Regions from separate parts of the Homo sapiens genome. Here region 2 is linked to region 1. Evidence: promoter capture Hi-C in 16 types of primary human blood cells and fetal thymus (Javierre and others, 2016). All regions are on one chromosome and are shown on one strand. The core of a region is centred on a gene start or on the middle of the fragment in contact, and the rest is flanking DNA. Distances in the headings are between cores, read along the strand shown.

Region 1 (4,679 bases), core at 2,099-4,598:
CCTTTTTTTTTTTTTTTTTTGTGGAGACCAAGTTTCGCTCTTGTCGCCCAGGCTGGAGTACGATGGCGCGATCTCGGCTCACCACAACCTCCGCCTCCTGGGTTCAAGCGATTCTCCTGCCTCAGCCTCCTGAGTAGCTGGGACTACAGGCGCCCGCCACCACACCTGGCTAATTTTGTATTTTTAGTAGAGACGGGGTTTCTCCATGTTGGCCAGGCTGGTCTCGAACTCCCGATCTCAGGTGATCCGCCCGCCCCGGCCTCCCAAAGTGCTGGGGTTTAATCCATCTTTAACCCACTGCAGCATCCCACTGGTCTCTGCCCATGGGCATGGACTCTGACCCTCCCCTCCCTGCCTCCAGGCCTACAGCTTCTTTCCTGAAGGTCCTCTCTGTTCCTATTATCCCTCCCCTGGGTGACTGCAACCCCCATCAATCTCATCTCCAGGCCTACAGGCTCCACCATCCATCCCCTCCTGCCAGTCCCCAATATTCCTGTAGCACAGCGTCCTCTGTTGTTCTGCTCAAAAGCCACGCACAGCTCTCTACTTCCCGCTGTACAATTTCCAAGCTCCTAGGAATAACACTCAGGTTTCCCTTCCCAGCTGACCCCATCCTACCTTACCAGCTTGATTACCTCCCGTTTCCTCCAAGGAACTGGGCCACACTTTGGCCACCTCGGCACAAAGTGCCCATCTCCTAGCACTCTCAGCCTATGCATATTGACTCCCTCCACCTGGGGACTGTCTTTCTCTCTCGTGTCGGACTCTAGCTCAATCCTCAAAGCCCAGTGCAAACCCTCCCTCCCCCAGAAGCCTTGCCCTCACTACTGATCACACTTGCCTTAAATCTTTGTTAGCAAGGACATGTCCTCCTGAAGTGAGGCCTGTGTTTCTAAGTCACATTTCTTTCTCTTTTCTTTTCTTTCTTTTTTTTTTCCCCAGAGTCTCGCTCTGTCACCCAGGCTGGAATGCAACAGCACAATCTCAGCTCACTGCAACCTCCTCCTCCTGGGGTCAAGCGATTCTCCTGCCTCAGCCTCCCGAGTAGCTGGGATTACAGGCGTATGCCACCAGGCCCAGCTAATTTTTGTATTTTTAGTAGAGACGGGGTTTCACCATGTTGGCCAGGCTGGTCTCAAACTCCTGGCCTCAAGTGATCTGCCTGCTCAGCCTCCCAAAGTGCTGGGATTACAGGCGTGAGCCACCACACCTCTTTCACCAATTTAATAACTGCTTATGGAGGCCCAGAGCTGGCTGCTGGGGACAGCAGTTGACCAAGACAAGCTGCTTCCTGTGCCCGGAGAGCTTACACTCCAGAGGGTGAAACAGATGGCAAACACAGCAACCAAGAGACATAATGATCAAAGATTCCGAGGCCTGCTGGAAGCCAAGAGAGGGGTCTGTGATGCAGGCACCCAGAGCTCCCCATTTTCAAGAGAAACCAGAGACTTGGATTTTTATGTAAACTCTCCTAATTTTAAAGGTTGCCAGCGCAAGCCCGTTTCCTCTGCTCTCTCAAGGCTCCCCTCCCCGCCTGGCCTCCCACTTTCTCCAGCGCGCCTGCCTCCTTCTCTTCCTGGGGGCCCCATCCGCACTCCTCCCCCTGCAGGATGCCCTACTTGCACCCAACTCCTCCTGCTGCCCGCGCCCTGGGGGTACCTGAGCAGCAGCTGGCAGGACGGGGTCCACTGGACTGGGAGTCCACTGCCCAGGACCCTGGGGCCAGTGCACAGCAGCTGCTGAGGCCCCCAGCTCAGACCCTGGGCCAGCCATCCTGAAAGAGGCCTTGTAGCGCGGGTGGACACCTGGAGTCCCCAGGGCTGCAGCTGCAGAAGCTAAATGCCTCTACCCAGGCCCAGTGCACACACACTGGGGGTTGGTCTGGAAGAGCTGGGGGGCCAGAGGAGTGAGACAAGGAAGGGTTCTGAGAGGGCTTCCGGGTTTGACCCCCAGCTCTGCCAGGTTCCTGGGGATTAAGTCTACAGGGATTTCTGCCATGGGACGGTTTATGTTCTCTGGAGCTGGAGATCACAGGAACAAATCCTAGCTCTGCCCTTCCTAGCCTGCTGACCTTGCACAGGCTCCTTGCCTTTCTGGGCCTCGGTTTCCCCATCTGGACACTGAGGGCAGTACCCACCTTGCAGGATAACTTTGAAGAGGTCGTGTGCCTGGCACACAACAGTGCTTGCTGTAGGGCAGGCTTCCACGGCCTCTGCCAGGCCCTCTCGAGGAATCACTCTGCTGGGCAGTGCCCCCCATCTGTGTTTTCTCAGGCCTCTGACCCGAGAGGCAGCCAATTGTTTGGACTCTGGGCACTGCCAGCTGGGAGGGCTCAGGTCTCTGAAGGGCCCAAGGTCCTGGTGACAGCTGTCAGGTCTCCGGGGACAGCTGGGTCATCTCTCCAGCTCCCAAAGAAACACCAAGAAGCCCCTGCATGCCAAGGACACCACCCCTCTGGACCACTGTGCCCCAGCTCTGACCACTGCAGTCCCATCTTCTCTGTGAGAGGGGGTGACAGAGCTCCAGTGCAGCCCAGGTTGGGGAGGTGGGTCTGCCAGGGACCAGCTTAGGATTTGGAGAATCGGCCCTGGCCACCTGAAGGTCCGAACCTGGAGGAGAAGGACAAGGGGCCAGCCACACAGCCTGGGCAGGGGCCTCTGCTTTCCACCTTTCAGACCCTGAGGGCAGAGTCCCGTGGGAGGGGACCCTCAGGGGGCCGGGGGCTGGCTGCCACAGCGACTTCCTCCTTCCCGCAGATCCCCAGGCGTGCACAGCAGGCAGAAGCTGTGGGGGAGATCGCAGCGCCCGCTGTGTCCTCCCGGTGACCAGCTGTCACCTGAGCCCAGGGCGCCTGCCCCAGCAGCCTGGTGTGTTTGCCAAGCCAGGGCTGGAGCTTCCTGGACCCGCCTACCCTGGAGGGGATGGAGCAGTGAAGGGCACCGGGCCAAGCGCTAGGCATCTGGGGCTAAGGAGACAGAAGCCCGCGGTGCCCGTCCATGCGGGCCCTCTGCCCCAGCACCCACATCTCAGGACACCCCTTCCTCCCAGGTCTGGCGGTCCAGTTTGGGGGTCACCGAGCTGGGGTGGTGTGCAGCCAGCAGAGGGGATTCAGGATCCCGGGGTGACTCCTGGCCCAGGCCTGTCACCCCACAGCTGGCTCCTGGCCCCAAGGCAGCCACGGGCAGGGGTCGTGATCGGGGGCGGGACGGGGCCCGGACCTCCTGACCGCCCCCCACCCCCCGCCGAGCGGGGGTGTATTTGCATGTCCCCGCCCCACGCACGGCATTGGCGGCGGCGGCGGGAGGCCGGGCCTGAGTGGCTGCGCGCCCGTGGAGCGGCGGGGGCGGGGCGCGAGCCGGGCGCCCGGGATGATGCCGCCGCCGCCGCCGCCGCCGCCGCCGCCGCCAGGGGAAGGGTTCGGGTCCGGGTCGGGCTCGGCGGGCGCGGGGTGCGGGACGGCCCAGGGCACGGCGGCTGCAGCGGGAGCACACTGAGCGCCCGCCCGCCATGTCCAGGAAGAAGACCCCCAAGAGCAAAGGGGCCAGCACCCCCGCTGCCTCCACGCTGCCCACCGCCAACGGGGCCCGACCGGCGCGCTCCGGGACTGCGCTTTCCGGCCCCGACGCGCCGCCCAACGGGCCCTTGCAGCCCGGCCGGCCCTCGCTTGGCGGCGGTGTCGACTTCTACGACGTCGCCTTCAAGGTGAGCCAGGCACCCGCCCCCCAGGCCAGCGCAGCAGGTGGCGCCCGGCCTGAGCCAAGGGTTGGGGGTCGGACAGGGGGTGCAGGGCCCGCGGCCCCAGGGCGCGGAGCCGACGCGGGAGGAACCCCGTGGGGCTTGCACGGTGCATCGTGCACACACAGCTGTCCATCCCAGGTCTGGGGTATCCAACAGCTGGCAGGGCCTGTCCCCCACCCCCCAGGCGGCATGGTGGCACAAGGGGTCCCGCGCCCCAGTGCCCTGGCCCCCGCCCGGGGTCTCACCATTTCCCGTATGCTGCCCTCCCTCAACCCAGCGGCTGTGGGCCTTTTTTTTTTTTTTTTTTTTTTGCTGGGGGGAAGAGGTTTGCCAGATGGATGGGGAACCCTGGGACTCCAGACCAAGGCAGAGGCTGTGTGGACTTGGCAGGGGGCTGGGAGGACCATTTTGGGTTTGGTAGCACAGGTTTCGGGGAGAAGGCCTGACTGCTGCCCACTTGCACCTCCCCCCAACCTCAGACTTGGCCCAGGTCCCTCTTCAGATCGAGATCTGATCCTAATGGGGCAAATTCCTCGAGCCTTGCTGGGGTCATGTCCCTACTGGGATGTGGAGAAGCCCCCGGCAGAGGCCTCCCCAAGTCTCTTAGGAGGTACCCAGCTGCCACCCCACCTGCTCCCCTCCCAGATGCTGTCCACCGTGTGGGGGTATGGACGTTAGGGAGGGTCCGGGATGCAGGTGGCTGCCCTCACTCCCCGCTGACTGAGACGGCCACTGTGCAGAAGGACAGAGCAGCCCCAGCCTTTCAGAGGCATACGCTGGGTGTCCAGCCCATCGGGGTCCCTGGCCCCGCTGAGCCTGCAGGCCTGGGCTGCCTCCCTCCACTCCTGCTCCTCACCTGCAGCCCCCTTCTGACCAGGCCAGCTCAGGGCAGACCAGACTCCCCCCAACCCTCCTGCTTGTCCTAGGTCATGCTGGTGGGG
Region 2 (3,841 bases), core at 1,342-3,841, 110 kb before region 1:
AGCTTTATTCAACAGGCGTGGCTTCCTGAAGCGTAAAGCCACTTCACAGACGGTGGCCACAGCGGCACCTCGGCCAGAGCCATGCGGCCATCAGAGACCCTGGGCGGCCGGGCAGAGGGCTTGGTTGAGGCAGGCGTGGCAGCGAGGGTGCACAGGCAGACAGGTCTGCTGGCCGAAGCCCACCAAGAGTCCATTGATCTCGTGCCACAGCTCCCTGTGGGGGTGGGGGCTGGGTCAGTGCTGACAGAGGGCGGGCGGGGTGAGCTCTTCTCCCTAGGAAGCCCCCCACATACTCATACCTAGGCAGCCACTCCTCCAGGGCGGCGCGGGTCTCCTCTGGGGACTTGGTTGCCTTCTTGGTCCACCTCAGCCTGTTGGCGATTCTGTGCACATGCGTGTCCACTGCTGCTGGGAGGCCAAGCGGGGTGAACAGGGGCACACTCCACCAGCCTAGCCCGTGCCCCTCCCCGCCCAGAGGCGAGTCTGCCACCACCCCCGTGGCCCTCCAGTTAGACATTGGAACCGCAAAGCCCTGGCTGCAAGCCTACATGTGACCATCTTGGCTGCCCCTGAGGTGCTGGGGCAGGGGCTGAGCCCTCTGTTGGGGTGCAGGCCTCTCTCCCATCACCTGAGCCAGCCTGGGGGGCTCTGTTCTGGGCTGCCCACTCCCAACACTGGTGCTAGTTGGATGTGTGGGTGGTGGGGTCTCTGCTTTGGGCAGGGCCTGGGGGTGATGACTCGGCTCTGCTTGGAGCTCTATTCCCCACAATAACAGCGACAGCTCGCTTGGACAAACGCTTGCTGGGGGCCAGACCCTGCCAGAGAGATTGGCCAGCTCAGTGAGTCCTCATGAGGTCCTACGGATGCTGAAACCGAGGCCCGGCAGGATCCCGACTCCGAAGCACCTCTCAGCCCTCAGCCTCCCCAGGAACGTGGCCCTGTCCCCGGAAGGGTCCATCCAGGCTTCCCTCTGTCTGTCTCCTGTGGCCTGAGGCTCCTCTCGGCATAAGCACTGGCTCTGGGCACCAGGCTGGGTGGCAACAGCTCTGCCTGGCAGGCCGGCATGAGGTCACTGCCTGCAGACCTAGCACCTGCCACTGCAGCGGTCAGGGACACAGCGGGAGCATGCCCTGGCCGGCCGCAGCTGCTGTCCACCTGGGTTCTGGCTCCTGCTCCCCTCAGCTGGCCACCCCAGGCGTCTGCTCACTGGGGCTCCCTTCTCCCACCCGGTGGCCCCGGCCAGCTGCAGCCCCAGCCCTGCCTCCTCCTCCCGTGTTTCCCAAAGAGAAAGCCGAGGCCTGCACCAGCTCCTTCGCTGCTGCCTAGAAAAAGGTGTCCGAGGGTGTGGGGAGACCACAAGGCCTGAGGGGTCACACCCCTGGGGCTCTGAGCCTCAGTTTCCTCCTCTGTAACACGGAAGTGGCCATGCTTCAAGGCTGAGTCAGGCCACGTCACGTTGTGTGAGCCTCCTGCCCACCTGGACAGTGAATGACGAGGACTGCCTCACCCACTTTGTGGCCAGAGCTTAGAGAAGCCAAGGGCCTGGCCCAGAGTCACCCAGCCAGGAGGTGCAGAGCTGGGACCGGAGCCAGCAATCTATGGCTGTGGCATTTTTTTTTTTTTTTAAACGGAGTCTTGCTCTGTCACCCAGGCTGGATACAGACAATGGTGCGATCTCCACTCACTGCAACTTTCGCCTCTGGGTTTCAAGCGATTCTCCTGCCTCAGCCTCCCGAGGAGCTGGAATTACAGGCTCCTGCCACCACGCCCGGCTAATTTTTTTTTTTTTGGTGAGACGGAGTCACGCTTTGTCGCCCAGGCTGGAGTACACTGGCGCGATCTCAGCTCACTGCAAGCCCCACCTCCCAGGTTCACACTATTCTCCTGCCTCAGCCTCCCGAGTAGCTGGGACAACAGGCGCCTGACACAATGCCTGGCTAATTTTTTGTGTTTTTTAGTAGAGACGGGGTTTCACCATCTTAGCCTGGATGGTCTTGATCTCCTGACCTCGTGATCTGCCTGCCTCGGCCTCCCAAAGTGCTGGGATTACAGGCGTGAGCCACCACGCCTGGCCACACCCGGCTAATTTTTGTATTTTTAGTAGAGAGCGGGTTTCACCACGTTGGCCAGGCTGATCTTGAACTCCTGACCTCAGGTGATCCACATACCTCGGCCTTCCAAAGTGCTGGGATTACAGGCTTGAGCCCTTGTACCCAGCCAGCTCTGACATTTTAACTGAGAGCGTTTCTCTTTCGGGGAACCCCTAGGAGGCAGCCCTGGGGTCTCCTTGCAGGTGGTCAGGCCCACAGACACCTGGAGAGGGAGGTATTTCCACATGGCTGTCTCTTGTGCCCGCTGCTCCCAAAGCCCGTTCCCTGCCTGGCTGCGGGCAGGGACCTTCCCCCACAGCCCTGCCCAACCACGATGCAGCACCCCAGGGACACGGGCAGCTGAGGACAGCCGCCCAGATAAGCTCAAGTGTCCACTGAGAGGCTGGCAGGTGGTGACGCTGGGAGTCTCAGTCGGGAGGAGGCCCTGCCCCGGCGCACCTGGCCTGGCTCTGGCTCTTTGGGGCTGCTGTGGCTGTTCAGCCTCACCAGGTGGCCCCGGCTCAGAATAGAGGCCCCCGGCCCTTGGTGGCCCTCTTGCCCACCAGAAAGTGCTGCAAGCCCCCCGCCTCCGGCACAGGCCCCCTGCAGGAGTCCCAAAGGGGCCTGGGATGGGGGCACACAGAGGGCAGGGCCAAGCCCTGGTTTCTGGACTGGCTGGGCCCGGCTGCGTGTGGCCTTAGGAGCCCCAAATCCTCTGGACAAAGCCGAGGAGGAGGCAGCCCCACCCCAAACCCAGGGGTCTGTCTGCACCCAACTGCCAAGAAGCCTCCGGTGCTAGGAAGAGACACCAGGACCTGGGAAAAGGATTCAAGGAGGGCCCTCCCCCCAGTGCCTCCCTCCCCACCCTCCCCTCTTCTCCCTCTCAACCCTCCCCTCTTCTCCCCGCAGCACCTCCCTCTCCACCCTCCCCCCATCCTCCCAGCGCCTCCCTCCCCACCCTCCTCCCCCATTCCCCCAGCGCCTCCCTCCCTACCATTCCCCTCCTGTCCCCGCAGAGCCTCCCTCCCCACCCTCCCCCTTTCTCCCCCCAGCACCTCCCTCCCCACCCCACCTGCTGAGGGGATACTCTTCCTCCTCCCTCCTCAGTCCTTACCTCCCCACTCTGCCCTCATCTCATTCCAGAACTTCCTGCTCCTGGCCCTCTCTCTCGCATCATGGTTTTACAGATGCTGTTCCTTCTGCTGGGAACACACTTCCTCCTCTTGGCCTGGCTCACCCCACCTTGCTCTGCAGCTCTCAGGTGAAGGATGACCTTGGGGGCCTTCCCAGAGGCCCTGGGCCCAAGCCAGGCCCCAAGAGCACCCTGCACAACCATCAGGGTTTCCACTCCACGAGTGGGGAATTCCTCGCTCCACATTTCTCCCGAATACAACGCAGATGGAGTCCAGCTCCGGGGCCTCTCTCAGAGCCCTGCACGGAGCAGGTGCTCAGCCCATGTGACCTCCTGCCCCAGCACCTGTCTCTGAGTGGGGCTGGCCTGGCTCCACCCTGGGAGCACCTTTCTGACTCTATGGGCTGGGTGGAGGACCAGCATGCTGGAAGTGGAGTCACAGGTCACAAGGATGTGGGGAATCCCAAGAGCAGCCAGTGGGCTGGAGCCAGCCCCGCCCTCCTCTACTCACCAATGCCTGACACAGTGCCCCAGGCCACAGCCATAGCCAGGTGTGCCATCTTGGGCCCAACACCCGGCAGCGCCACCAGCTCGGCCACAGAGGCTGGGATGTCCCCAC

The links. Contacts are between HindIII fragments. The CHiCAGO score rates a contact against its expected background, and 5 or more counts as called.
Region 2: a contact is called between a fragment that was not itself captured here and the fragment with the promoter of RAB26 in region 1, in 9 of 17 cell types (erythroblasts, megakaryocytes, naive CD4 T cells and 6 more). The highest score is 8.5, in erythroblasts.

Annotation. Positions count from the first base shown.
Region 1 is chr16:2,145,277-2,149,955 of GRCh38, forward strand. It overlaps RAB26 (RAB26, member RAS oncogene family), which reads left to right and starts at 3,349. Exons shown (of 9, transcript NM_014353.5): 1 at 3,349-3,702; 2 at 4,665-4,679. The coding sequence starts at 3,508. RefSeq lists enhancers at 2,350-2,901, 2,902-3,451, 3,452-4,003, 4,004-4,555, 4,556-4,679 and 1 more and silencers at 2,990-3,039, 3,050-3,319, 3,330-3,419, 3,510-3,679, 3,690-3,819 and 1 more. The HindIII fragment of the contact is 14,976 bases long and covers 1-4,679 here.
Region 2 is chr16:2,039,834-2,043,674 of GRCh38, forward strand. NTHL1 (nth like DNA glycosylase 1) reads right to left here. Exons shown (of 6, transcript NM_002528.7): 4 at 3,734-3,841; 5 at 300-405; 6 at 1-214. The coding sequence ends at 91. Among named protein-coding and RNA genes, the nearest start is that of NTHL1, 6.1 kb to the right of the region's middle. The HindIII fragment of the contact is 5,183 bases long and covers 1-3,841 here.